Linked DNA regions of Homo sapiens: all the other regions are linked to region 1. Evidence: promoter capture Hi-C in 16 types of primary human blood cells and fetal thymus (Javierre and others, 2016). All regions are on one chromosome and are shown on one strand. Each heading gives the region's core, a stretch centred on a gene start or on the middle of the fragment in contact. The rest is flanking DNA. Distances are from core to core; before and after follow the strand shown.

What was found. Contacts are between HindIII fragments. The CHiCAGO score rates a contact against its expected background, and 5 or more counts as called.
Region 2: a fragment that was not itself captured here is called in contact with the fragment with the promoter of ZNF350 in region 1 in 3 of 17 cell types (total CD8 T cells, non-activated CD4 T cells and activated CD4 T cells); the score reaches 8.4 in total CD8 T cells.
Region 3: a fragment that was not itself captured here is called in contact with the fragment with the promoter of ZNF350 in region 1 in 1 of 17 cell types (activated CD4 T cells); the score reaches 7.8 in activated CD4 T cells.
Region 4: a contact is called between a fragment that was not itself captured here and the fragment with the promoter of ZNF350 in region 1, in 1 of 17 cell types (non-activated CD4 T cells). The highest score is 6.3, in non-activated CD4 T cells.
Region 5: a contact is called between a fragment that was not itself captured here and the fragment with the promoter of ZNF350 in region 1, in 7 of 17 cell types (total CD4 T cells, non-activated CD4 T cells, total CD8 T cells and 4 more). The highest score is 14.0, in total CD4 T cells.
Region 6: a contact is called between a fragment that was not itself captured here and the fragment with the promoter of ZNF350 in region 1, in 2 of 17 cell types (non-activated CD4 T cells and total CD4 T cells). The highest score is 5.9, in non-activated CD4 T cells.

Annotation. Positions count from the first base shown.
Region 1 is chr19:51,985,389-51,990,184 of GRCh38, reverse strand. It overlaps ZNF350 (zinc finger protein 350), which reads left to right and starts at 3,345. Exons shown (of 5, transcript NM_021632.4): 1 at 3,345-3,415. RefSeq lists enhancers at 3,179-3,418, 3,005-3,880. The HindIII fragment of the contact is 6,623 bases long and covers 1-3,880 here.
Region 2 is chr19:37,203,042-37,207,706 of GRCh38, reverse strand. It overlaps ZNF585B (zinc finger protein 585B), which reads left to right. Exons shown (of 5, transcript NM_152279.4): 2 at 453-667. The coding sequence starts at 596. Among named protein-coding and RNA genes, the nearest start is that of ZNF585B, 5.2 kb to the left of the region's middle. The HindIII fragment of the contact is 4,710 bases long and covers 1-3,681 here.
Region 3 is chr19:37,479,332-37,483,421 of GRCh38, reverse strand. All of the region lies in intron 4 of ZNF570 (zinc finger protein 570), which reads right to left. Among named protein-coding and RNA genes, the nearest start is that of ZNF570, 12 kb to the right of the region's middle. The HindIII fragment of the contact is 810 bases long and covers 1,485-2,294 here.
Region 4 is chr19:36,638,715-36,643,134 of GRCh38, reverse strand. It overlaps ZNF461 (zinc finger protein 461), which reads left to right. Exons shown (of 6, transcript NM_153257.5): 6 at 3,092-4,420. Among named protein-coding and RNA genes, the nearest start is that of ZNF461, 26 kb to the left of the region's middle. The HindIII fragment of the contact is 3,246 bases long and covers 743-3,988 here.
Region 5 is chr19:37,502,704-37,507,225 of GRCh38, reverse strand. It overlaps ZNF793-AS1 (ZNF793 antisense RNA 1), which reads left to right and starts at 139. Exons shown (of 3, transcript NR_110723.1): 1 at 139-387; 2 at 1,186-1,380. ZNF793 (zinc finger protein 793) reads right to left here and starts at 287. Exons shown (of 8, transcript NM_001013659.3): 1 at 260-287. RefSeq lists enhancers at 71-220, 1-577, 578-1,369. The HindIII fragment of the contact is 826 bases long and covers 1,147-1,972 here.
Region 6 is chr19:36,480,677-36,484,898 of GRCh38, reverse strand. All of the region lies in intron 1 of ZNF566 (zinc finger protein 566), which reads left to right. Among named protein-coding and RNA genes, the nearest start is that of ZNF566, 6.8 kb to the left of the region's middle. The HindIII fragment of the contact is 921 bases long and covers 1,387-2,307 here.

The sequences.
Region 1 (4,796 bases), core at 2,096-4,595:
CATGGCCTCCCAAAGTGCTGGGATTACAGGTGTGAGCCATTGCACCCAGCCTTTTTTTTTTTAATGGATTGTGGGGTTTTGGCATTACATCTAAGTATTCCTTCCTTACTGTAATTGATAATTCTTTTTCCACTTCCTTTGACAAAATAATGTAGTTTTGCTTCTTTTTTTTTTTTTTTTTTTTTTTTTTTTTGAGACAGAGTCTCACTCTCTCACCCAGGCTGGAGTTCAATGGCATGATCTTGGCTCACTGCAACCTCCGCCTCCTGGGTTTAGGTGATTCTCCTGCCTCAGCCTCCCAAGTAGCTAGGATTACAGGCACGCACCGGCATGCTCAGCTAATTTTTGTATTTTTAGTAGAGACGGGGTTTCACCATGTTGGCCAAGATGGTCTTGATCTCCTGACCTCGTGATCTGGCCACCTCAGCCTCCCAAAGTGCTGGGATTGCAGGCGTGAGACACCACGCCCAGCCAGTTTTGCTTTTTAATATTTAGCAATATCCATTTAAATTCATCTTTGTATATAGGGTAAGGGTTAATTTAAAGTTCAGCCTATGGTTGCCCAGTTGATTCAACAGTATTGAAAACACTGTCCTCTTTCCATTAAATTGATTTTGAACATTTGTAAAAATCAGTTGCCTGTTCTTGTGTCCATTTCTTGACTCTATTCTGTTGATGTGCGTGTCTATCACTCCACTAATAATCTACGGTCACTCCCATCAGAAATGACATAATATGCTCTATGAGGTAAAACAGCTATGTTACCTCATATAAAATGTTCAAAGCCAGAACCTGGACTTTGGGAAATGTCCCATATCCCTCTCCGGAAGCCCGCCTCCCAGTCTCTCGGTGTTCTTAGAGATGGCGAAGGATGGGGTTGCAGCACCAGAATTCCAGAATCGGAAGTAGGTTCTGATACGTGTTCAGCCTTTGGCAGCTGCTACTGTAGCCTTGAAAGCCTGATGCTGCGTGTGAATCCGGATGGGGAGCTTGTGGGGACGACCATGAAGTGGAAACGCATGTGAATGTCCGTGTTCAGGGGTTTTATTTCAGTTTAGTCACCGAGGAATATGGGTGTGAGAAAGAGACCCTTGGGATGTCAAAGGTTAAGGCTTAGTTTTAAGAGTTTAATGACTGAGGGTCCCACGGACAGAGCTTGAGGTCTATATGTTCACTTTTCATGAGTCTCAGTAATAGAAAACTGGGGAAAGTGTGTCTCAGTGAATGCTGTTTTTTGCTCAGATTTGCAATTTAATATGGGGCTCAGATACAGAGAAGCCCGAGCTAGGAAGAGGAGTGGCGTGAATGAAAGGTCTAGGGGGAGGAGTGTCAAAGGAGTGCCTCTGTGGTAAGTTTTAAATTGAATTTGAAGGCAATTTTATTTAGAGGAAGACGGGGCTTGTCTGTGTTTGAGAATGTAATGAGGCTGGAGGCTTTCAGGTGTGCAGTTGAAGGTTAGTGGTTGCTTTGAGACTAACTGGATGCTGGAAACACTTCCTGTCAGTCTTTCAAGTCCAAATCTGTCCTGAAGGTTTCTATTTAAAAACTTTTTCTTCCTAGGTCCACTATTCTCATTGTACCCATAAAAATCAGAGTAATTCAGGGTGACGAAGTGGTGTCTTTACCGAGGAGTCTTGCTCTGTCGCCCAGGCTGGGGTGCAGTGGCGCGATCTCGGCTTACTGCAACCTCCGCCTCCCGGATTCAAGCGATTCTCCTGCCTCAGGCTCCCGAGTAGCTGGGATTACAGGCGCGCGCCACCGCGTCCGGGTAATTTTTGTATTTTTAGTAGAGACTGGTTTCGCTTTGTTGGCCAGGCTGGTCTGGAACTCCTGACCTCAGATGATCCGCCTGCCTCGGCCTCCCAAAGTGCTGGGATTACAGGTGTGAGCCACCGTGCCCCACTTCACTTTCTTAAATGTTGTGTTTAGAAGCACAAACTTAAAAAAAAATCAAGTCCACTTTATTAATTTTATTTTGTTTTGTGGGTCATCCTTTACTCTCCTCTCAGAATTAACTCACGTCCATGAGGATTATCTCCCTTTTCCTTCTCTAAGTTTTATACTTTCTCTTAAACTTAGATCTATGATCTATTTTGAGTTAACTTTTGTGTATGGTTTGAGGGTCCTAACTCATTTTTCTGGATGTGGATATCCAATTATCCCAGTGCCGCTTGTTGAAAAGACTATTCTTATTGAATTGTCTTGGCACTTTTGTCAAAAACTCTTAACAATATTTTTATACTCTCAATTCTGGCTCTGCTCTTCCCATTGGCACCTTTACTAAAAGTGGCCTTTCTAGGAGGCCCAATTCCTTTAGTCTGTCGTGGCCAGGCTCACATCGTAATTCATTCTCAAAATCTCTTTTCTCTCCTCTCCTCTCCTCTTTTCTCTTCTTTTCTCCTCTTTTCTCTTCCTTCTCCTCCTCCTCTTCCTCCTTCTTCTTCTTCTTTTTTGTAAATAATAATCATTTTTTCGAGGCCAGGCGCGGTGGCTCACACCTGTAATCCCAGCACTTTGGGAGGCCGAGACAGGCAGATCACGAGGTCAGGAGGTCGAGATCATCTTGGCCAACATGGTGAAAGCCAGTCTCTACTAAAAATACAAAAATTAGCTGGGCGTGGTGGCGCGTGCCTGTAGTCCCAGCTACTTGGGAGGCTAAGGCAGGAGAATCGCTTGAACCAGGGAGGCAGAGGTTGCAGTGAGCCCAGATCTCGCCACTGCACTCCAGCCTGGCGACAGAGCAAGACTCCGTCTCAAAAAAAATTATAATTTTTTTCTTTCTTCACCACCCGCCCCCCCGAATACCTGCTATTTTTCTGTTCTTAAAAACCGCTTCCTGCAAGCTAATTTTCGCCAGACGCTTTCCCGTGGGTGTCTGCCTACCTGATGTGTTGCCTTTTCCCTTTCTACCTGATCTGTTACCTTTTCCATTTCCAATTCATTCTCTGGGATACCTACACCTGGCTGCACTGTTACTTGTCTTTTTCAAAACCTTTTTTTTTAAATTTAACAAAGTGGATGGAAAAGCGCTAAAGGCAATTTAGCTTGCCCCATATTTGCCTGATAAAGCCTGAGTCTCTGAAAATCTGCCCCCTTTCGCAAGACTTTAAGTGCCAGGAAACGAGGCGATTTCAGTGACTTCTCTTCTTCCCTGGCTCCTGGCTCAAAAACCTGCCACTGCCTTCTGTGCGTCCAATTTTCAAACATGGCTGCCGTCAGGAGCCACGGCTATGGGCGCGGCCATTTTACAGAGTAGGAAATGCCGTAAATGCGCTTGTCCTTGCTCTTTTAAACATTTTAGGTTCTCCTCGGCCGCCGTAGGTGGACCATAAACCCGTGCGAGGACTCCAGAAGTAGGAGCAGTTTACGGAAGTGTAACGTTGAGGCCCTTCTTGTGTATCTGGAGAAAATAGAGGTCAGTGTGTGGTTTTGTCCCTGAAAGTTTTTTGTCCTAGTTCAGGTTTTGTCTCAGTGGAAGGTTTGGGAGATCTGAGGACGTGGTGTACCCTGGACCACATAGTTTTTGGCAGGAAGACTGGGGAGCGCCGGGGTATAGGCATTTGGGAGGTACCTGGTGGGAGTCTGTGATCCCCCTGTCTGTGGTCCGCGTGCCTTTGGTGTGAGTACAGTGACTAAGGGTCTGTAGTGATCAACGGCCGTGTCCTAACTGTCAAGGTATGGATCACTCTGCTTGTAAAGGATGGAGGTGGCGATTAGGATCGATGCGGCGTCTGCTTCGGGTTCAGGATTTAATTTGGAACTCAGTGATGTTGGAGTCTGGGAGGATGTCCATCGCTGTAGAGTGTCTGGTCCGTGGTTCGGATGAGTAAGAGGCATGGGGCCAGTGTCTGTGGTACAAAGGCTTGTGAGGGCTGAAGCTTTCGAGACTTTGGAGCCCTGGGTCCTGGGTTGAGGTTCGAACCTCGGTTACTGGGGCAAAAGGCGACACAGCCCCCAGCATTAGTTCGAAACCATATATCTACTCTTCTGATCCTTGGGGTGGCTATTTACAGATCGGGGGGTCAAGTTCAGTCATACCCTCCGATTATATATTGTCTATGGCTGCAAAGGCAGCGGTTGAGTTGTTGTGACAGAGACCTCGTGGCCGGCAAAATCGAAAATGTTGCCAACCTCTGCATTCACTTCTTTTATTTTTTATTTATTTTTTTTATTTTTTGAGACGGAGTTTCACTTTTGTCTCCCAGACTGGAGTGCAATGGCGCGATCTCGGCTCACTGCAATCTCCGCCTCCCGGGTTCAAGCGATTCTCCTGCCTCAGCCTCCTGAGTAGCTGGGACTACAGGCCCACGCCACCACGCCCGGCTAGTTTTTGTATTTTTAGTAGAGACAGGGTTTTACCACGTTGGGCAGGTTGGTCTCGAACTCCTGACCTCAGGTGATCCGCCCACCTTGGCTTTCCAAAGTGCTGGGATTACAGGCGTGAGCCACCGCGCCCGGCCTTCACTTCTTAATATATAGTGAGTGTTGCTTGCCCGCCTTATATTCACACTTTCTTAACAGAATCTCCATTTCGTGAAGTATTCATCCCTGTGGCAAGGCGACCCAAATCCCAGTTTCTTAGTAAGGCCTTGTTGGTCTTAGCCAATCTTGCTGGTTCCAATTGCCATTGCTAGTGATAGGTTTGACATGGAAATGAGCTTAGGCGTATGGTGCAATTCTAGCCAACTATGTATGTGAAAATCTGCCTGGGAGTTTCTGAGGGAGCATTTTCTTTTTTAAATATGTAATTTCTTGAATCTCTTTTTCCATGTTCGTGATGATATCGCCTGAAAATA
Region 2 (4,665 bases), core at 77-2,576, about 15 Mb after region 1:
CATAATCTCATTTAATCTTAGTAACTGTGACACAGGCATTTTCATCCTTATTTCTGAAACAAAATCTGAGTAACTTCTTTATATTCTCATTGTTGAAAAGTGGTACAGCTGCAGTTCAAATCTGCAGTAATGTTACTCTAAATTTCATGGCTTTTCCCATATTTCAGCACTGTTCTCCACAGTTCTGAAAGTGTGGTTCTTGTACCAGCAGCATCAGCATTTCCTGGGCACTTATTAGAAAATAAAATTCTTAGGGCCTACCTTAGACCCATCGAAGGGGTGAAGTTGAGAATTTTAAACTATGTTTTAACAAGCCCTCCAGGTGACTTGAATGCATACCTACGTTTGGGAACCACTGCTCTGGTTTCTAGCGCAGGGACCTGCACCTTGGTGTATCCAGGAAGTGTTTATGTAGTGAATGTTGAATGACTACGTGGACATTGTTTTTCTAGGTTCTTGGGTGTCTCTGGGGAGTCCCTGGGCCAGACCTTCCTCCAGACTCCAGCCCACCTCTTCGGAGCAGCTCTGCTGAGTTCACAGATGACCACTAAACTTCAGGCACCCTAGACAAAAAGGGTTGAGATCCAGTGTGGCCATGCCAGCTAGTTGGACCTCACCCCAGAAATCCTCAGCCCTGGCTCCAGAGGATCATGGCAGCTCCTATGAGGTGAGGAGGAGGAGTCCCAAGGGGTGGAATTTCAGTCCAAGAGTAGATAGCTCTAATCTGTCACCACAGCCTTAGGGCAGAGGCAGACAGGCCTTAGGAACCAGCTGGACTCTAGACTTGGTGCTCCTGAAAGAAAACTTGATCTTCCTGTCAAGAATGAACACGTGGGTAATGTCTCCGTCTCTGGAGGCCACCTGTGTGACAGTGGAGAGGTGCACTGTCAAGGAAAACTGTTGTTGATTTTGTCATCACGCTATATTGATGTTTTGGCTGCAAATAGAATTCCTTGTTAGAAGTGACTTTTGTTTGAGATTTTGAAAGCATTTTTTCATTTCTTCCTAAACCACCTCCTCAAACACAAATGTTTTCTCTGTTTTCTTTCTGAAACTTGTTTTTCAGATGTTGCTTCTCCATTTCTTTTCTCTACTATTTTCTATGTATTTCCTGCTATCCATTCTGGGTAACTTTGACACCTTTTGCCTTCCAGCCCTTCTATTGAGCTTCTCATTACCACTATCCACATTTTAACTTAATGTTTTAATTTTTAAAAACTCTAGTTTGTTTCCTAAAATTTTTTTTTTTTTTTTTGAAACAGAGTTTTGCTCTCATTGCCCAGGCTGGAGTACAATGGCATGATCTCGGCTCACTGCAACCTCCGCCTCCTGGGTTCAAGAGATTCTCCTGCCTCAGCCTCTCAAATAGCTGGGACTACAGGCATGTGCCACCTCGTTCGGCTAATTTTGTATTTTTAGTAGAGACGGGGTTTCTCCGTGTTGATCAGGCTGATCTCGAACTCCTGATCTCAGGTGATCTGCCCACCTCAGCCTCCCAAAGTGCTGGGATTACAGGCATGAGCCACTGTTCCCAGCCTGTTTCCTAAATTTTTTTTTATTGCCATCCCGTTCTTATTTCATGGATGTAATGTTATTTTTTAAATTATTTATTTATTTATTTATTTATTGATGGAGTTTTGCTCTTGTTGCCTAGGCTGGAGTGCAATGGCATGATCTCCGCTCACTGCAACCTCTGCCATCCAGGTTCAAGCAATTCTCCTGCCCCAGCCTCCTGAGTAGCTGAGATTACAGGTGCGAGCCACCACGCCTGGCTAATTTTTGTATTTTTAGTAGAGATGGTGTTTCACCATCTGGGCCACGCTGGTCTCGAACTCCTGACCCTCAGGTGATCCACCTGCTTCGGCCTCCCAAAGTGCTGGGATTACAGGTGTGAGACACCATGCCCGGCCTGGGTGTATTGTTATTTCTTATCCATCTGAAGATATTGTGATAATTTATTAGGAATAGTTTAATCTTTTGAATAGGCAATGCATATACCTAGTTCAAAAGTTAGAAATATATGAAAAGCAATATATTGAAAAGTATTATGGTGAAAGAGATGGGACTGTGGTTCACCCACCTCTGCCTTCCATCTACCTGTGTCTCCCGGTAGTGATAACCTGCTTTATTCATTTTCTTTGATTGCTTAGTTCTGTATACAAATGAAAACAACTACAATTTTTTTCTCTTGATTTCAGAATGGCATAGCAGATTAACTTTTTTGTACATTGCTGTTTTAATGTTTGTTTGGTAAAATACAGAAACTATTATGAACAATATCGCAGTGGATATTGTCATGCCTTCTCTTTCTATTGGATATATTAGAAGTAGTGGAATTTCATTTCAGGGTTCTAGTCACGTGGTGAGAGTCTCATCTGCACCTCAGTGAACCTCTACTTTAGTTGCTCTTGGGCAGTTTTAGGATTGAGTATCTTAATAATTTTATTCTAGAAGATAGGAAGGATAGCTTGAGGCTAAAGTTACAGTTGGTAAAGCAGCAGCAGTTGGCTGGGCACGGTCGTTCACACCTGTAATCCCAACACTGGAAAGCCAGGGTGGGAGGATGGCTTGAGGCCAGAAGTTCAAGACCAGCCCTGGCAATGTAGTGATTCCCTGTCACTACCAAAAAAAAAATTTAATTAAATTAAAAATTAGTTTGGGCCTGGTGCGGTAGCTCACACTTATAATCCCAGCACTTTGGGAGGCTGAGGCAGGCAGATTGCCTGAGGTCAGGAGTTCGAGACCAGCCTAGCCAACATGGTGACGCCCCGTCTCTACTAAAAATAAAAAATATTTGTCAGGCATGGTGGCGTACGCCTGTAATCCCAGCTACTCAGGAGGCTGAGGCAGGAGAATCGCTTGAACCTAGGAGGCAGAGGTTGCAGGGAGCTGAGATTGCACCACTGCACTCCAGTCTGGGTGACAGAGTGAGCCTCTGTCTCAAAAAAAAAAAAAAGAAAAACAATTAGTCTGGCATGGTGCTGTGTGCCTATAGACCCACCTGCTCGGGAGGCTGAGGCAGGAGGATCACTTGAGCCTAAGAGTTCGAGATTACACCTAGCTATGAGCATGCCACTGCACTCCAGCCTGGATGAAAGAGATAGACTTTGTCTCAAAAGAAAAAAGCAGCAGTCTCTTGCATTAGGCAGAATAAGGAGACTTTTATTCACTTTTGTGGTTTGAAGAATGTTCTGATTTTTGTCTATGCTCAAATATAACGACAGAGTGGTCTTGGTATCATCTTACACCATGATGGTCAGAGATTGGTCTTGTTTGCTGTTGGTGTTCTAAGAGATTGTTTTTGTGTAGCACCATGGAGAACACCATGAATTAGCTGGCCCTTGCCAGGTTAGCTTCTAGCAACACTGAGGCTTAATTGATAGTACGAGGCTAACTCTCAGAGGTTAGGACTGCTTTTGTCCTCATTTAAAAATAAGAGAGTGAGCCAAAAGAAAGCTAGGGCTGCAATTTAGGAACAGATCAAAAGGGATTTAAGATGAAAATCACCTAAAGGGATGAAAACATGTTGTTCATCCTTATGAAAAGAATCATGTACAAAGAATTATACAAATTATTAGCATTTTTTTAATTAATAATGTATCTTTGAACTATTTTAAGTAAAAATGAACAGAAATCATTAAATGCAATATTGGCCATTTTATCACACTACTTTCAGAAGCTTATTGATCAAAGCAGATAAAAAATATAAATCTTTGCTATAATATTGATTGTTTTCTGACAAAGAGCATTAAATTACAAATAAGTAAAAGGCTCTTGAAGGCTGGGTGCGGTGGCTCATGCCTGTAATCCCAGCACTTTGGGAGGCCGAGGCGGGCAGATCACCTGAGGTCGGGAGTTTGAGACTGGCCTGACCAACATAGTGAAACCCTGTCTCCACCAAAAATACAAAATTAGCTGGGCGTGGTGGCCCATGCCTGTAATCCCAGCTACTCTGGAGGCTGAGGCAGGAGAATTGCTTGAACCCGGGAGGTGGAGGTTTCGGTGAGCCGAGATTACACCATTGCGTTCTAGCCTGGACAACAAGAGTGAAACTCCATCTCAAAAACCAAAACAAAACAAAACAGAAAGGCTCTTGCACAAAATGTGAATGTACTTAATGCCACTGAACTGGACACTTAAAAATAATTATAATGGCAAATTTTATGTATATTTTACCACAACGCAAAATAGTTCAATAAAGTACTACTTTTTTTTTTTTTTTTTTTTGTGACAAGATCTTACTATGTTGCCCAGGCTGGAGTGCGGTGGCACGATCTCAGTTCACTGCAACCTCTGCCTCCTGGGTTCAAGTGATTCTCCTGCCTCAGCCTCCCTCCTAGCTGGAATTACAGGCACCTGCCACTGTGCCCTGCTAATAAAGTACTACATTTTAAAGTTCGTGTGGTAAAGCTAAACTGTAGATAGAGGGGAAAACTATAGATTAAGTGCCTTTTAAGGAATCTTAGAAATTTTGGGAAAAAAGCAGTTATGGTTTCAACTGAAGAAGTTACAAAAAGAATGAGTCAAAAAATACAAAAAAGAACGAGGACTAAAAAAAGAAAAGCAAAGACATGAGTCACAGAGAACAAAAAATGGTTGATAAAAATGTGACAGAAACACAAGTTGCTTCTCCATATTAATGATCAAGAAAAAAGAGTGAAGATA
Region 3 (4,090 bases), core at 640-3,139, about 15 Mb after region 1:
TAAATTTCATTTTATGTTAGAAGATACTACGTGCTTCAGAGAAAGAAAATCAGGGTAGGGGATGTCATGGATACTGATGAAATTAGAGCTAGGAATCATTAACAAGTTAACATTTAAGCAAAGATTTGAAGAAAGTGAAAAAGTCAGTCAGTCATTCAAGTCTCTGGGGAAAAAGCATTCAGGGAAGAGGCAGCAGCTGGTTCAAAGGCCCAAAACTAGAAGCATGTTTACTATGTCTGGGGAATATTAAGAAGGCCAGTGTGGCTATAGAGTGAGTAGTAGGATATAAAGTCAGGAGGTAAAAGGTAATGAGATTATTTAAGCTTCACCGGCCTTCTAAAGAATTTGGCTTCTACTCTGAGAGGGACGGTGTATTAGAACATTTTCACGTTGCTGTAAAGACACTACCTGAGACTGGGTAGTTTAATTGACTCACAGTTCTGCATGGCTGAGAAGGCCTCGGGAAACTTACAATCATGGCAGAAGATGAAGGGGAAGCACGCACCTTCTTTACAAGGTGGCAGGAGAGACAGAGAGAGGGAGAAAGGGGGGGAGGGGGAGAGAGAGAGAGAGAAAGAAAGAGAGAGAGAGAGAGAGAGAGAGAGAAAGCAGGGGAAACTGCCACTTTTAAACCATCAGGTCCCTTGAGAACTTCCTCACTATCATGAGAACAGCATGAGGTAAACTGCCCCCAAGATCCAATCACTTCCCACCAGGTCCCTCCCTCAACACATGGGGATTACAATTCAAGATGAGATTTGGATGGGGATCCAGAGCCAAACCGTAACAGATGGTAATACAGCTCCATCCAAATCTCGTGTTGAAATGTAATCCCCAATGTTGGAGGTGGGGCCTGGTGGGAGGTGACTGGATCGTGGGGGTGGAGTCCTCACGAATGGTTTAGTACCATCCTGTTGGTAGTGTCATGATAGCGAATTCTCATGAGATCTGGTCCTTTAAAAGTGTGTGGCACCTCCCCCATCTCTCATGCACTCCTGGCTTTTGCCAAGAGATGTGCCTGCTCTCTGTTCACCTTCTGCCATAATTGGAAGCTTCCTGAGACCTCCTCGGAGGAAGATGCCGCTATGCTTCCTGTACAGCCTGCAGAACTGACAGCCAGTTAAACCTCTTTTCGTAGAAATTACCCAGTCTCAGGTATTATATTTCATTATAGCAGTGCAATGGCCTAACACAGATGGAGACCCATTGAAGTGGTTTGAGTAGAGGAGTAATAGCTGGTTGCTATTCCATGAAATCACCACAAAATGTGGTATATACGTACAATAGATTATTCAGCCTTAAACGAGGAGGAAATTCTGACATATGCTATAATACAGATATAACTTGAGGACATTACAGTAAGTGAAATAAGCCAGTCACAAAAGGACAAATACTGTATGATTCCACTTATATGAGGTACCTAAAGTAGTCTGGCAATACAGCAGACTAGTTATAATGACAAATCTTCCTGGTACAAAAAAGCTTACAATTTTGTAGAAATAGAAAAACTTTCTTTTAGCTGCATTACCAAGCTGGCAAGAAATTAAGGTAAACTCTCAGAGGTCAAACAGACTGTGGAAGGCACTTTCAAGTAAGTAAGGTGGAACTGAAGCTGGGAGCATCAATTTATCCCTGGTGAGTCTGGTCTTAGGCACATGTAACTGGAGTTTTAAGAAAAATAAACACAGAGAATGGGAAAGTGACAATATGTGAAGAGATAATAGCTGATAATTACCCAGAGTCCATTAATGGTCAGATAAAAAAAATCACAATAAATCCCAACTACAGCAGCTGAAATTTACATCTAGATACATCACATTGAAAATACAGAATAACCAGGGCAAGAAGAAGAAAGTTCTTAAAAGTTGCAAGGAAGAATATATTAATGAAAACTGACTTCTCAAAAGCAAGAACAGAAGCCAGAAAAGCATGGAATGGTATCTTTAAAGCACTCATAAAAATAATCTGTCACCGGGCACAATGGCTCACGCCTGTAATCCCAGCACTTTGGGAGGCTGAGGCGGGCAGATCACGAGCTCAGGAGTTTGAGACCAGCCTGGCCAACATAGTGAAACCCCCATCTCTACTAAAAATACAAAAAATTAGCCAGGCGTGGTGGCACGCCCTGTAATCCCAGCTACTCGGGAGGCTGAGGCAGGAGAATTGCTTGAACGCGGGTTGGGGAGGTTGCGGTGAGCCGAGATTGCACCACTGCACTCCAGCCCGGGTGACAGTGCAAGACTCCATCTCAAAAAAAAAAAAAATCTGTCAATCTATGACTGACAGAGAAAGCTTCTTCTATGCATGACAGCAAAACTATCATATAAATGAACAAAACATAACAACAATAAAAGTTGATATGAATAGTATATAAATATTTATAAAGAAGTTACTTCAGGAAAAAGTTCTGGGACAGAATGGTGAACAGGGAAAATGACAAACATGGATAATTTTTTGTTTTGTTTTTTTTTTTGAGACAGAGCCTTGCTCTGTCACCTAGGCGGTAGTGCAGTGGCACGTTCTCAGCTCACTGTACCTTGAACTCCTGGGCTCAGGCGACCCTCCCACCTCAGCCTCCCAAGTAAATGGAACTACAGGCACACACCCCATACCCAGCTAATTTTCGCATTTTGTAGAGACGGGGTTTCACCATGCTGCCCAGGCTGGTCTCAAACTCCTAGACTGAAGTGATGCACCTGCCTTGGCCTCCCAAAGTGCTGGGATTACAGCCATAAGCCACCACACCTAGCCAAAAGTGGATAAATCTAAACAACACTAAATATAATATGGTCTAAATTAAATAAATATAATAATGGTCTATTATACAACTTCATAAAGCAAAATAATAATTTAAGAAAAGCAAGGAATAACTGAAATGAGGGTAAGTGAAGTTAAGACAGTCTAAGGTTCTTGGTGTTTTGTTTTGTTTTGTTTTTTGAGATGGAGTTTTGCTCTTGTTGCCCAGGCTGGAGTGCAGTGGCACGATCTTGGTTCACTGCAACCTCCACCTCCTGGGTTCAAGCGATTCTCCTGCCTCAGCCTCCCAAGTAGCTGGGACTGCAGGTGCATGCCACCACGCCCAGCTAATTTTTGTATTTTTAGTAGAGACGGGGTTTCACCATGTTAGCCAGGCTGGTCTCGATTTCTTGACCTCGTGATCCACCCGCCTCGGCCTCCCAAAGTGCTGGGATTACAGGCGTGAGCCACCGTGCCTGGCTACGTTCTTGTATTTTTAGTGGTCAAATATAAAGATTAGAATTAATTTTAGGTTTTGTTAAGGTGACTATAAATGTTAGATTTTCTAAGGTAACCAGTACAGAATAGAAATAGATTGTAAAACATTCAAATTAGGAGATGGAGAAAAACCAAGAAATAAGAAAAATTTGAAAAGGCACAATTTATAAAAGAAAGTGAGGTAGTGGAAAATAAATCCAAATCTATTAATAGTACCAAAAAATTTAACTGACCACCACCATCATTTGGTTAAAAGATAAAGGTTATCAGACTGGATTTTAAAAAATGTTTATCCAAATACTGCTTATAAGAGAAACACACAGCAAGCCGGAGAATAAAGGAGTAGGAAAAAACTACATCAAGTAAATATTAACAAAAGGCAAATATAGCTATAACAATATTAAGTGAATTCTTTTTGCTTAATCAGATAGTCACTAGAATTAAAGAGAGTAACAATAATATAAGAATTCACTAGAAAAATAAAACATTCTAAAAACATATGACCAAATGAAATACCTTCAAAATATAAAAAAAACTGCTGTTACAATTACAAGAAAAAAATTTATGTATTTACCACCAGAGTAGAAGTTTCTTTAACATGTCTCTCAGTAATTGATGGCTCAAAGACATTTTTTTTAAATTCATAAGGACACAGAAGATTTGACCAGCACAGTTAATGAGCTTAACCTAATGAGCAAATATCAAACACTGTATTCAACAACCAGAAAATACATATTATTTTCAAGGACACAAAGAATATTTACCAAAACTAGCCCTAAGAAATAAAGCAAGTCTCAAAATACTTTCAATAAATGTATATTGAAGAGATCCCATTCTCTAACCATAATACAATTAA
Region 4 (4,420 bases), core at 1,116-3,615, about 15 Mb after region 1:
TGTGTTTATATCTGTACATAAATAAGTATGTGTATGAGTGTAGTGGTTGTTGTAAACATGTCCGCTGGCCGAGTGCGGTGGCTCACACCTGTAATCCCAGCACTTTGGGAAGCCAAGGCGGGTGGATGGCCTGAGGTCGGGAGTTCGAGACCAGCCTGGCCAGCATGGTGAAACCCCATCTCAACTAAAACTACAAAAATCTCAACTAAAAATACAAAAATTACAGGTGGTGAGCACCTGTAATCCCAACTACTTGGGAAGCCGAGGCAGGAGAATCACTTGAACCCAGGAGGCGGAGGTTGCAGTGAGCCGAGATCGCACCATTGCACTCCAGCCTGGGCTACAGAGCAAGACTCTGTGCCCCACCCCCCCCCACCAAAAACACACACACACACCATGTCTGCCACTTCTGTGCTTCTGTGACAGTCCTCAAACCAAAAAAAAAAAAAAAAGAAGTCTAACTTCCTGCTTTGAAAATGGGACAGCCCTAAGTGAATTGTTTCCAATAAATAGAAATACTTTGTGATTTCTGAGGCTAGGTCATAAAAGTAGACAGCTTGTGCCTGGCATATGCTCATATGCCCGCCCTCCCTGCCTGCACTTCCCCATATGCTTTTGGAGTCTGGAGTTGCCAGGTAAGAGGGCATCTCTTACCTTGAAACAGCTATGCTGGACACACCATGTAGAGAGACCACATAAGGATAGAAAGCCCCAGGCATCACAGCTGTTACAGTCCCAAGCTTTACATATTTCCTCAGGCCTGGTACCCGACATGTGGGTGGAGGAAGCCATTGGAATGATCCAGCCTGACCAGTGTGTGACTGTCACTAGAGAAATGCCAAGTAAGGAATGCCTGGCTGAGCTCAGTTAATCCTCAGGACTGAAAGACAATAATGATAAATGGGTCTGGTGTGGTGGCTCGTGCCTATAATCTCAGCACTTCGAGGGGCTGAGGCAGGAGAATCACTTGAAACCAGGAGTTCAAGACCGGCCTGGGCAACAAAGTGAGAGCCTTTTCTCTACAAAAAATGATTTAAAAATTAGCAGGGCATAGTGGCACACCCCTATAGTCTCAGCTTCTCCAAAAGCTGAGTGAGGTAGGAGGATTTCTTGAGCTCAGGAGGTCGGGCCTGCAGTGAGCTGTGATTGCACCACTGCGCTCACTCTCGCCTGGGTGACAGAGCATGACTTGGTCTTCACTAATAATTACAACAGCAATAGTAATAATAATAATAAATGACTTACTGTTTTAAGCCACTCAGTTGGAGTGGCTTGTTATAGATAAGCAAGTACATGGTTTATTTATGTATGTGTTTATATATAAAATCAGTGCAGTCGATGTAGGAGTGAATAGAAGCATGGAGAGATGTTCAGTAGTTATTACAAATTTAAGGGCATTAAATGATTATGATTGTCAATTGTTATCTTTGTATTGTTTCTCTTCATCTTAATTCCTTTTCCTTAATAATTCATTCATTCAGCAACTGATTATTGAATACTTATTATATTGTAAAGGTTGTTTTTATAGTGATTTCTCTATCCTTGAGTAGCTTTATGGGTAAAAAAACATATATATATATTATATATATATATATTTTGTTGTTTGTTTGTTTGTTTCTGAGACAGTCTTACTCTGTTGCCCAGGTTGGAGTGCAGTGGCATGATCTTGGCTCACTTCAGCCTCCACCTCCCGGTTCAAGCAATTCTCCTGTCTCAGCCTCCCGAGTAGCTGGGATTACAGGCATCCGCCACCACGTCCAGCTAATTTTTGTATTTTTAGTAGAGACAGGTTTCACCATGTTGGCCAGGCTGGTCTCCAATGCCTGACCTCAAGTGATCTACCCGCCTAGGTCTCCCAAAGTTCTGGGATTACAGGTATAAGCCACCATGCCTGGCCAAATATTAAAAAGATTAATAAATGAATATGTAATTCCAGTAGTACTTCAGGAAGGACTTCATTAGATAATATTATCAGGAATACAATTCTGAGGAAGTGACTTTTACTCTGAGACTTAGATGAAATGAAGCCCGCTATACAAAAAATCTAGGCAAAAAGATTCTTAGCACATGGAAGAAGCTATGAAGCTCTAACATAGGAAAAGGCTTTGGCATGTCCTAATTGTTGACAGATTAATTTGGTTATAGCTTAATGAATAAAAAGGAATTGGACTCAAAATGAGATTATATTGGTTAGCAGAAGCCCTATATTCTCATGCCTAGGAGCTGAAGTTTTAAAATTTCTGTGGGAAGCTGTATTTGTAGGTTAAGCTGCTTGTGACAGAGACCCAGAACAATAGCGATTGAAACCATATAGATGTTTAAATTAATTTTCTTTTTTTGATACAATGTCTATAACCCAGGCATATAAATTTAATTTTCTCTCGCATTAAAATCCAAGCTAGAAAGGTATCTACTCTGCAAAACCATTATTTGATAGACATGACAGCAAATCAATATTGCCATCAGCTTTGTTGAGGAAGAGGGAAAACAGGCAATATAGGGCGTGGGCCACCTGGCTCTTAACGAAAGAACTCAGATGGTATTACATAATATTTCTGTATTTCTTTAGGCAGAACCCAGTTGCATGGCATTCTCAGCTGTGAAAGAGCTTGGGAAATGCAGAGTTTATATTGGCAGCTTTATTCTCAAATAAAAAGCCATGGGTTCAATTGATATTTTTTAAAAAGGGAAAAAAATAGATATTTGGCAACAGCTGACAATCTGCTGCATAAACCTTTGGCCTGATAGTGTTAAACATATGAACTCTGACTCAGTTGACCTCATTCTAAGACCAACTCTCTTAGATTCTGATTGAGTTGATTTAGAATGTTTCCTGAACATCCATAATTGCAACAAACTCTCAAGGTAATTCAGAGGTGGATCAAAATTTCAGCACCATTGAATTATTTCCCTAATTAACTACTTCATTTGAGTGCTCTCATTTCCCTGTGCTCCTTTACCCATTTAAGAGTTCTCCAAGCCTTTTATTTCTTATATGAATTATTTGCAGTTATCTCTCATTGCTACCATAGATATTTTATTTCTCTTATAGTACAAAACCAGGAGTTAAAATATATTTCTTATCTTTCAGACTTGGCATCCAGAGATGAGCCCCAGAAGTTATCTCCAAAAAGGGATATTTATGAAACAGAATTATCCCAGTGGGTTAACATGGAAGAATTTAAAAGCCATAGTCCTGAGAGATCAATTTTCAGCGCTATCTGGGAAGGCAACTGTCATTTTGAGCAACATCAGGGACAAGAGGAGGGTTATTTTAGACAACTTATGATTAACCATGAAAACATGCCCATTTTTAGCCAACATACTTTACTCACTCAAGAATTTTATGATAGAGAGAAAATCTCTGAATGTAAAAAGTGTAGAAAAATCTTCAGTTACCATTTATTTTTTAGTCACCACAAAAGAACTCATTCTAAAGAACTTTCTGAATGTAAAGAATGCACAGAAATTGTTAATACACCATGCCTTTTTAAACAACAGACAATTCAAAATGGTGACAAATGCAATGAGTGTAAAGAATGTTGGAAGGCCTTTGTTCATTGCTCACAACTTAAACATCTAAGAATTCATAATGGTGAAAAACGCTATGAATGTAACGAATGTGGGAAGGCCTTTAATTATGGCTCAGAACTTACTCTACATCAAAGAATTCACACTGGTGAGAAACCTTATGAATGTAAAGAATGTGGGAAGGCCTTTAGACAGCGATCACAGCTTACTCAACATCAGAGACTTCATACTGGTGAAAAACCCTATGAATGTAAGCAATGTGGGAAGGCTTTTATTCGTGGCTTTCAACTTACTGAACACCTGCGACTCCATACTGGAGAGAAACCTTATGAATGTAAAGAATGTGGAAAGACTTTTAGGCATCGCTCACATCTTACTATACATCAGAGAATTCATACTGGTGAGAAACCCTATGAATGTCGGGAATGTGGGAAGGCCTTTAGCTATCACTCAAGCTTCTCACACCATCAGAAAATTCATTCTGGCAAGAAACCTTATGAATGTCATGAATGTGGGAAGGCTTTTTGTGATGGCTTACAACTAACCCTACATCAGAGGATTCATACTGGTGAGAAACCCTATGAGTGTAAGGAATGTGGGAAGACTTTTAGACAGTGTTCACACCTCAAAAGACATCAGAGAATTCATACTGGTGAGAAACCTCATGAATGCATGATATGTGGTAAGGCCTTTAGACTTCATTCACACCTTATTCAACATCAAAGAATTCATACTGGTGAGAAACCCTATGAATGTAAGGAATGTGGGAAGGCCTTTAGCTATCATTCAAGCTTCTCACACCATCAGAGAATTCATTCTGGAAAGAAACCTTATCAATGCGGGAAGGCGTTTAATCATAGATTACAACTTAACTTACATCAGACTCTTC
Region 5 (4,522 bases), core at 310-2,809, about 14 Mb after region 1:
ACCGTGCCACTGACTCCCGCAAACCTCTGTCCGCCACCACTGAGGCCCCGCGAGGCTCAGACGCCGAATCTCTTAACCCTTCAGTTCCCTTGTCATTGACCCTCACGGGCACCCATAGCTGACCCAGTCGGCCACCGTAGTCGGCAGCTCACTATCCTCCACTAGTCCCAGGTTTGACCGTTTCTCAAACCGTGCCTTCCCATTTATGCTGCATCCGCGCCCTGAATCTGAAATTGGTCGTCCTGCCACGCCGCCTCACCGCGGTATAAGGTCGTCCCATCCTGAATGGCCGGTGCGCAGACTCAATTGCGACTTTGAGGCTGTCAGCCGCCACCCGGCAACCTTCCAGTGAACAGGATTCTGGGTTTCTCAAAGCTGTAATTGGAGGTATGATGGCGACGCCCACTTGACTCCTACCTGGGGCGGCCATGTTTAAAACTGTGCCGTAAAACGGATGATTAAGCCCTTTGCTAGACCAAAAGATAAGGCTATTTTAGGACAAGGAGAAGGAAGTGTCCCTGGATCCCTAAACAGAGATGTCGTCTCTGCTCTTAACTCAGCATCTCAGATGCCAAAACCTCCTGTGGCCAACATGGTGGCGCCCAGACATCAAAGCTGAGCTTTCTTTGTCTCCGGCAGCCTGGTAAGATGGCCGCGTACATTTTTACCGCTTCTTACGTGCAATGGGTGCAGCCTCTCCTAGGAGCTCCCCTATGGCAATGTGAAACTCTTTCTGAGCCAGCTCTAGGAGTTAGAGAGCAGCGAAGAGACTCGCTCTTAGGGAGACAGAGACAGCCTAAGGACGGGCGTGACTTCACGGAAAGGGCGGAGCCGCAAGGAAAGGGCGGGGCTGCCGCAGCGGGAAGAGATCAGAGTTCTTAGCGCATAATGGAAAGGAAATGTTGAAAGCAAGGTTTTTACCTAAGGAGGCTTGCCCGAGAAGCCGACCTGAGGAAAGAATGAGTGCAAGCAGTTTATTTGGTAGGTGGGGGATGGAGAAGTGAGACGGGAGCGATGGGAACGAATATACAGTGCATAGGTGAGCAGATTAGCTCTGGATCAATGAGGGCTCAGTCAGCTTGGGACCTCTGGGGGATTGTGTAGAAACCACTTCCAAGTTTTCACAACCACCAGGCCGATGAAGCTTACATATGTCTACACCATCTCTCTTCCTAATTGTTTTAGGGCCACTCCAGAGGTGTTAAAGCTCCAGCACTTCGAGCCTGCCTCGTGGGAAAGTCTTAGGCTGAGTCTGTAGGTGTCTGCAGTTAAGAAGCCAGCGGTCTGCATATGATTGCTCAGGGGTGGTGGCTGGGTCCAACAGCATTCACTACAGGCCTGCCTTGAATACCACCTAGCGCAGTGCTCCGCATATCACAGGTATTGGAACATCTCTAGAAAAGATTGCCTTGTCTTATGAAAATGGCTTTTTAAAAAAATCCTAATTCCAACTGGTCATCCTAGCAACTGATACAATAACTGACCTCAAAATGTTTCCCAATGATTCCTACCTCCTACTATTCACACTCTTATGTAGTTCCCTCCCACATTGTACCAGGGTTGGACTGTGAGACTAATAGAATGCAGTAGCAGTGATAGATGTCACTGCTGAGATTAAATATAATAAATGGCACCTTGAGTTCTGTCTTAAAGGCTGCTGCCCCCACTTTGAGAGAAGTTAGTTGCCATGTCATGAGGATACCGAGACAGCCTATGGAGAGGCCCAGGTAGCAAGGAACTAAGCCCTCCACCCAATAGCCTGGGAGTAGCTGGGGCCTTCCTATAACCAAGTGTATCACCCTTGGAAGCACATCTCCCAGCCCCAGTCAAACCTTGAGATGACAGCAGCCCCTGCCAATAGTTTGACTGCAACTGCGTGAGAGACACAGTCACAAGCACTCAGCTATAGCAGCTCCTATATTCCTCACCCTCAGAAAGTGTGTAAGATACTACATGTTTGTTGTTTTAAGCTTCTGAGTTTAGGGTAATTTGCTATGCATCAGTAGATAACTTCAATGCTGTGTTAAAATGCTACAATTGACATTTCTTCTTTTTTTTTTTTTTTGAGACGGAGTTTCGCTCTTGTTGCCTAGGCTGGAGTGCATTGGTGCAATTTCAGCTCACCGCAACCTCTGCCTCCCGGGTTCAAGCGATTCTCCTGCCTCAGCCTCCTGAGTAGCTGGGATTACAGGCATGCACCACCACGCCAGGCTAATTTTGTATTTTTAGTAGAGACGGGGTTTCTCCATGTTGGTCAGGCTGGTCTCGAACTCCCGACCTCAGGTGATCCGCCTGCCTCGACCTCCCAAAGTGCTGGGACTACAGGTGTGAGCCACCGCGCCCAACCCCATTTCTGAATTCTTTAAATAAAGTTCCTAAAGTTGCGAGATTATTCTGTCAGAGGAGATTATTACCAGTTTCCTCTTCTTCCTTGCGATGGAAAAATTAAAGGCCTATGGCTCTGCTAGATTTTTAAAATTTAACAAAGAGGTCAAGGGTCCTTGCTTCATTTGATTTAATATAAGTGGTTTATATGACAACACTTTGAAGTGATTATAGTAATTAATTTAAAATCACCATTTAGGCTGGGCATGGTAGCTCACACATGTAATTCCAGCACTTTGAGAAGCCAAGGTGGGCAGATCACCTGAGGTCAGGAGTTCAAGACCAACCCGGCCAACATGTTGGAACCCCGTCTCTACTAAAAATACAAAAATTAGCCGGCATGGTGGACGCCTATAATTCCAGCTGCTCGGGAGGCTGAGGTAGGAGAATCACTGAACCCAGGAGGTGGAGGTTTCAGTGGGCCAAGATTGTGCCATTGCACTCCAGCCTGGGTGAGACTCTGTCTCTAAAAAAACAAAAATAATAATATTGAAGTAAAATGAGTATTTATAAAGTGCCTATTAAATGCCTGATTGATCACTGGCCTGCTCACTTCAAGGGCTGTTCTTATTCTAGGATTAGACCAATAAAGCAGCCACAACTGGTAAATTGTCACTCATGAAGGCCGAGGGAAAGACAGCCTTTGAGGGTCTTTTGCTGGGAATTAAACGTTCTGCCTCAAAAACTATACATGTCATTTCCATTCACTAGTCTTTGAGACGTCACATGGCCACCCAGGAGTGTGATAGCAGACATGTAATCCTACCATAATTCTGGGATGGGAAGAGCTGGCGATATTTTGGAATAACATTAAAGACTGCCACAAACATTGTAAAGATAGTGTTATCATCACGCTTCAAAAGAAACTGCAACACGGGGGTGAGGTGACCTGTCCGTAATCATTCAGTGAGTAAATAAAGCAACAAGGATTCAGAGCTGGGTGTTTCTGTGTTATTCAGAAGTAAAGGATCATTAGCATCATTATTAAATTTTACCCAAAATTTATTAGAACCTAAATATATCTCAGCAACTGAATTGGGAAAAAGAAGACTGAGTACTCGAGTAAAAATAGAGGCTACTCAAGGAGCTGACCTCTTGATTGGGGAAGGAGTACACATGGAAAGAGGAAACAGGTAAAAGAAGAGTACACACTGTAGGACTCCAGTCATGAGAAACTCAAGAACAGGCAAAACAGATCTATTGAGTTATAAATCAGAAAGCAGTTGACTCCAGGGGCTATTTTTTTTTTTTTTTTTTTTTTTTCTGAGACAGAGTCTCTACTCTGTCTCCCAGGCTGGAGTGCAGTGGTGAGATCTCCATCTCGGCCCACTGCAACCTCCTTCCAGGTTCAAGTGATTCTCGTGCCTCAGCCTCCCAGGTAGCTGGGATTACAGGCATGCGCCATCACACCCGGCTAATTTTTGTATTTTTAGTAGAGATGGCGTTTCACCATCTTAGCCAGGCTGGTCTCAAACTCCTGACCTCAAGCGATCCGCATGCCTCAGCCTCCCAAAGTGCTGGGATTACAGGCGTAAGCCACTGTGCCTGGCTGGGGCTATGACTTCGAAGATAATTTAGGGGGTGAGGAAAATGTTCTATGTCTTGTTTTATGTGGTAGTTTCATGGGCCTACGTAATTGTCAAAGACTCATCAAAGTGAACACTTATTTGTGTTATTATATGTAAATTATACCTTCATTTTTAAAAGAAAAAGCATACTATTCAGAGTATTGAGTAATGATGTGGGCCAGGGAACAGAGGGAGTGAGAAAAGAAGTAACAGAACTTTATCATAGTCTGCAGAAAGATAGGACCCTGCCAAGGTCATCATTAGCATTTATGGCCTATGACAGTGTGATTCCTCTAGGCAGAGGAATTCGAGAAAGGAGCCTCTAGGCAGACTAGCTCCAAGGCTCTGGGCTAACCCAACCTGCAGTGACCATCAGCTCTCACCTGTTCCAGTGAGCTTATGCCTATAGGTCCAAGCCTTGAACTAAATGTGGTGGCCCTAGACACTGTCATCATTTAAAAGGGTACAGGGCCCCAAATTTGGCCTAAAAGGAGGCACAGCGCTTCCTTGCTCTGGAGCAGAAAGGACCTTACCTGGGCCTGAGTGTTGTTTGTTGTGGGGGAAAGAAA
Region 6 (4,222 bases), core at 598-3,097, about 16 Mb after region 1:
ATGTAAAAATGGCTGGGCGCGGTGGCTCATGCCTGTAATCCCAACACTTTGGGAGGCCGAGGTGGGCGGATCACAAGGTCAGGAGATCAAGACCATCCTGGCTAACACGGTGAAACCCCATCTCTACTAAAAATACAAAAAATTAGCTGGGCATGGTGGTGGGCACCTGTAGTCCCAGCTATTCGGGAGGCTCTGGCAGGAGAATGGCGTTAACCCGGGAGGTGGAGTTTGCAGTGAGCTGAGATCGCGCCACTGCACCCCAGCCTGGGTGACAGAGCGAGACTCCATCTCAAAAAAAAAAAAAAAAAAAAGAAACTATGCCAAAATCCTATTTCTCATCATGTTTTCTCACGCATTAGTTTTAACATTCATTGATAATTTTTACCTGTAACAATTATTACTGTGATGTTTGCCTAGCGGTGATTTTCTCCTTCTATCATTTCTTACACTTTGATAATTTAAATTCTACTATAAGGAAGAGCTGTCTCTTCTTGCTCCTGTTAAAAGTGAACTAAATGTGGCCTGAGAAGGACTTTGTACTTCTATATTTGAGTCCTTATGGACGAACTGTAACCTAACAGGTAGACAGAATTGGAAACCTAACTTGTGTGCCTGTAACAGTGTATGTGCCTGTAACAAGCTGAGTCTTGGCTAATCCCAGCAGCAATACTTCAACCACTCATACACTGCTGAGTGTTCAAACTGTGTTAAGTAAGGCAAACACTGTCTGGGCACAGAGGCTGGCGCCTGTAATCTCAGCACATTGGGAAGCCGAGGCAGGCGGATCACCTGAGGTCAGGAGTTGGAGACCAGCCTGACCAACATGGTGAAACCCCATTTCTACTAAAAATACAAAAAATTAGCCAGGTGTGGTGGAGTGCACCTGTAATCCCAGCTACTCAGGAGGCTGACACAGGAGAATTGCAGTGAGCTGAGATCGTGCCATTGCACTCTAGCTTAGGCAACAAGAGCAAAACTCCGTCTCAAAAAAAAAAGGCAAACAAGAACTTGTAACCAGTTGAGCTGTTTCTCCACCTCACTTCTGATTTTTGTATGTCACTTCCCTTTTTTTTGTCTATAAATTTGTTCTGACCACGAGGCATCCCTGGAGTGTCTCTGAATCTGCCGTGATTCTGGGGGCTGCCTGATTTGCGAATCGTTCATTGTTCAATGAAACTCCTTTACATTTAATTCAGCTGAAGTTTTTCTTTTGTCCCCATTTGTTTATTCAATTATTTACCTATGGACTCATGGATATTTATTTTATTCTATTCTCTATTATTATTATTTATTTATTTTGCTGTTCAAATTTTCCCATATTTGGCCATCAGAAGCTCCTTAAGTTGGCTCTTGTGTCTTTTCAACGTGTGATCATTTTTTAAAGCTTCCCCCCAACCCCGCTTTCTGGGACATAAGATGTTCCAGGTTCATCTTGTATTTTCCCTCTTCCATCTCTGGGCTCAGCAATTTCTCCAAGCAGCATTAATTTCTTTTATTGGAGAATGAATTTATAAACCAAGATCTGGGCACTTGGTGTGCTTATTGCTACTGGTGTGTCTTTGCTCTGGTTCTGGTCAGTGGAGAGAGTGAGAAAATACACAAATGTCTACATGCACATTTATGTCTATTTATTTGTTTATATGTTAAAAACACACCAGTTTACACTCATATGTTTAATTCTATTCCAGTACCACAGGGTATTTTCTTTTCCCAAGAACTATGAACTATCTGAGATTTTACCCTAGTTGTAAGCTAGTAAGTTGGCTTGTCAGTTTCACAGATACGTTCAGAAAACATGAGACTTCTGAGTCTGAGACAAAGGATGCTTTGTTGCTCATGGCAATCTTCAGAATATCTACATTCTCATGGTACTGATTCAGTCATACACCCAGGATTATGCAAAATACACAGGTATCTGTGTGTTCCCTTGACCTTAGGAAACCTGAATTTTTTATAATGGATAGTTAGAATGCCTACCCTTTGCTGTAGAAGGAGACCGACTCTGTCTTCCAAGGCTGTTCACTGTATAAACAACTTGGTAAAATAGTGCAGAACAAAAACACTTAGTACCTCTTCTTGCAAGATACGCAGAAACATGCAAGACCCATGGAGAATTGTCTCCCATCAAATTTGGCCATTTCCTTGTTACTTCATTTTCCAACAGAGAGAAACCTGCTTCTCAGAATCAATAATTAGCTCTATCCTAGAATACATGCAAATTAGTTCAGAGTTGCCAACCTGGACCTGTGTAAAAAGTATTTAGTAACTACAGTAGAGAATCTCTGTGTAGCTCTTTTTCTTTAAGCTTATAGTATATAGTAAACAAACATCTTCCAAAGTTACTCAATTTAGTTCTTTTCTTTGCCACTCTTTTCAGTATGTTTTTTTTTTTTCTTACATTTTTCTTACATTTAAGGATCATTTGTTGCATTTTGGGTTCCCCCACATCCTGGTTGATTGTAGCAGGCTACACTATTTTGAATGTGAAAACATTCGCAGGGGACAGTGGCTCACTCCTGTAATCCCAACACTTTGGGAGGCCGAGGCCGGCGAATCACGAGGTCAGGAGATCAAGACCATCCTGGCTAACACGGTGAAACCCCGTCTCTACTAAAAATACAAAAAATTAGCCGGGCGTGGTGGCGGGCGCCTGTAGTCCCAGCTACTGGAGAGGCTGAGGCAGGAGAATGGCGTGAACCTGGGAGGCGGAGCTTGCAGTGAGCCGAGATCGCGCCACTGCACTCCAGCCTGGGCGACAGAGCGAGACTCCGTCTCAAAATAAATAAATAAATAAATAAAAATTAACTTAGTTCCCACAGACTCCTTGTATATATTCAACTTCATTCGTTTCTGCTTTATCCTTGCTGTGTTTCTTTTGCACAAATGAAGAGTTACCTATATTCTTTTTACATTAAAGATAGCATTCTCTAGGCACTCTTTTGTACATTGTTTCTTTCTCTTAATGATACATTCTGGATAACACTCAGGCAGTTAAAGAGATATTCATAATTCTTTTCTAATTGTTACATAATACTGCAGCCTGTGGATTTATCATAGTTTATTGAACCGCTTTCCTACGTATGGATATTTAGGTCATTTACAATATTTTGTTACTAGAAACAGTGCTGCAATAACCTTGTATATATGTATTTTTCTATTGCTGGAGGAGTATCTTTAGGGTAGATTCCTAGAAGCGGTATTGCTGGGTCAAAAGGTAAGTGCTTTGTAGTTTTGTTAAGTATTGCAAAATTCCTCTCTAGAACTGTTGTACCAGTTTTTATTCCTACTTGCTGTGTATGAGCATGTCTGTTTCCCTTCACAGCCCACCTAACAGAATATGTTGTCATGTTTTTTAGTTTTCACCAGTCTAATAGATGAGAAATAGTACCTCAGTGTTCTTTTCTTTTTTTTTTTTTTTTTTTTTTCCCGAGACAGTGTCTTGCTCTGTTGCCGGGGCTGGAGTGCAGTGGCGCGATCTCGGCTCACTGCAACCTCCGCCTCCTGGGTTCAAGTGATTCTCCTGCCTCAGCCTCCTGAGTAGCTGGGACTACAGGCGCGTGCCGCCACGCCCAGCTAATTTTTGTATTTTTGGTAGAGATGGGGTTCCACCATGTTGGCCAGGCTGGTCCCAAATTCCTGACCTCAGGTGATCCACCAGACTCGGCCTCCCAAAGTGCTGAGATTACAGGTATGAGCCCCTGTGCCCAGCCCTCATTGTTGTTTTCTTATTTCTCTCATTATGAGTGTGTTTGAACATTTCAGAGTCTTTTAAAAGATTGCCTGTTTATGTCTTTCCCCATTTTTGTAGCAGATATTTATTTAGTACTTTGTCTTTTATGACTAGTGCTTTTTTTTGAAACGAAGTCTCACTCTTGTTGCCCAGGCCGGAGTTCAGTGGTGTGATCTCAGCTTACTGCAACCTCTGTCTCCTGGGTTCAAGCGATTTTCCTGCCTCAGCCTCCTGAGTAGCTGGGATTACAGGCGTCTGCCACCATGCCCGGCTAATTTTTTTTGTATTTTTAGTAGAGACAGCATTTCAACATGTTGGCCAGGCTGGTCTCGAACTCCTGACCTCAGGTGTTCCGCCTGCCTTGGTGGGCCTTGGCCTCCCAAAGTGCTGGGATTACAGGCATAAGCCACCACGCCTGGCCCCGAAGCTTTTAAACATTCACATTCACACTTAAGTCTGTGATCCCTCTTAAATTAATTCTTATGTATGGGG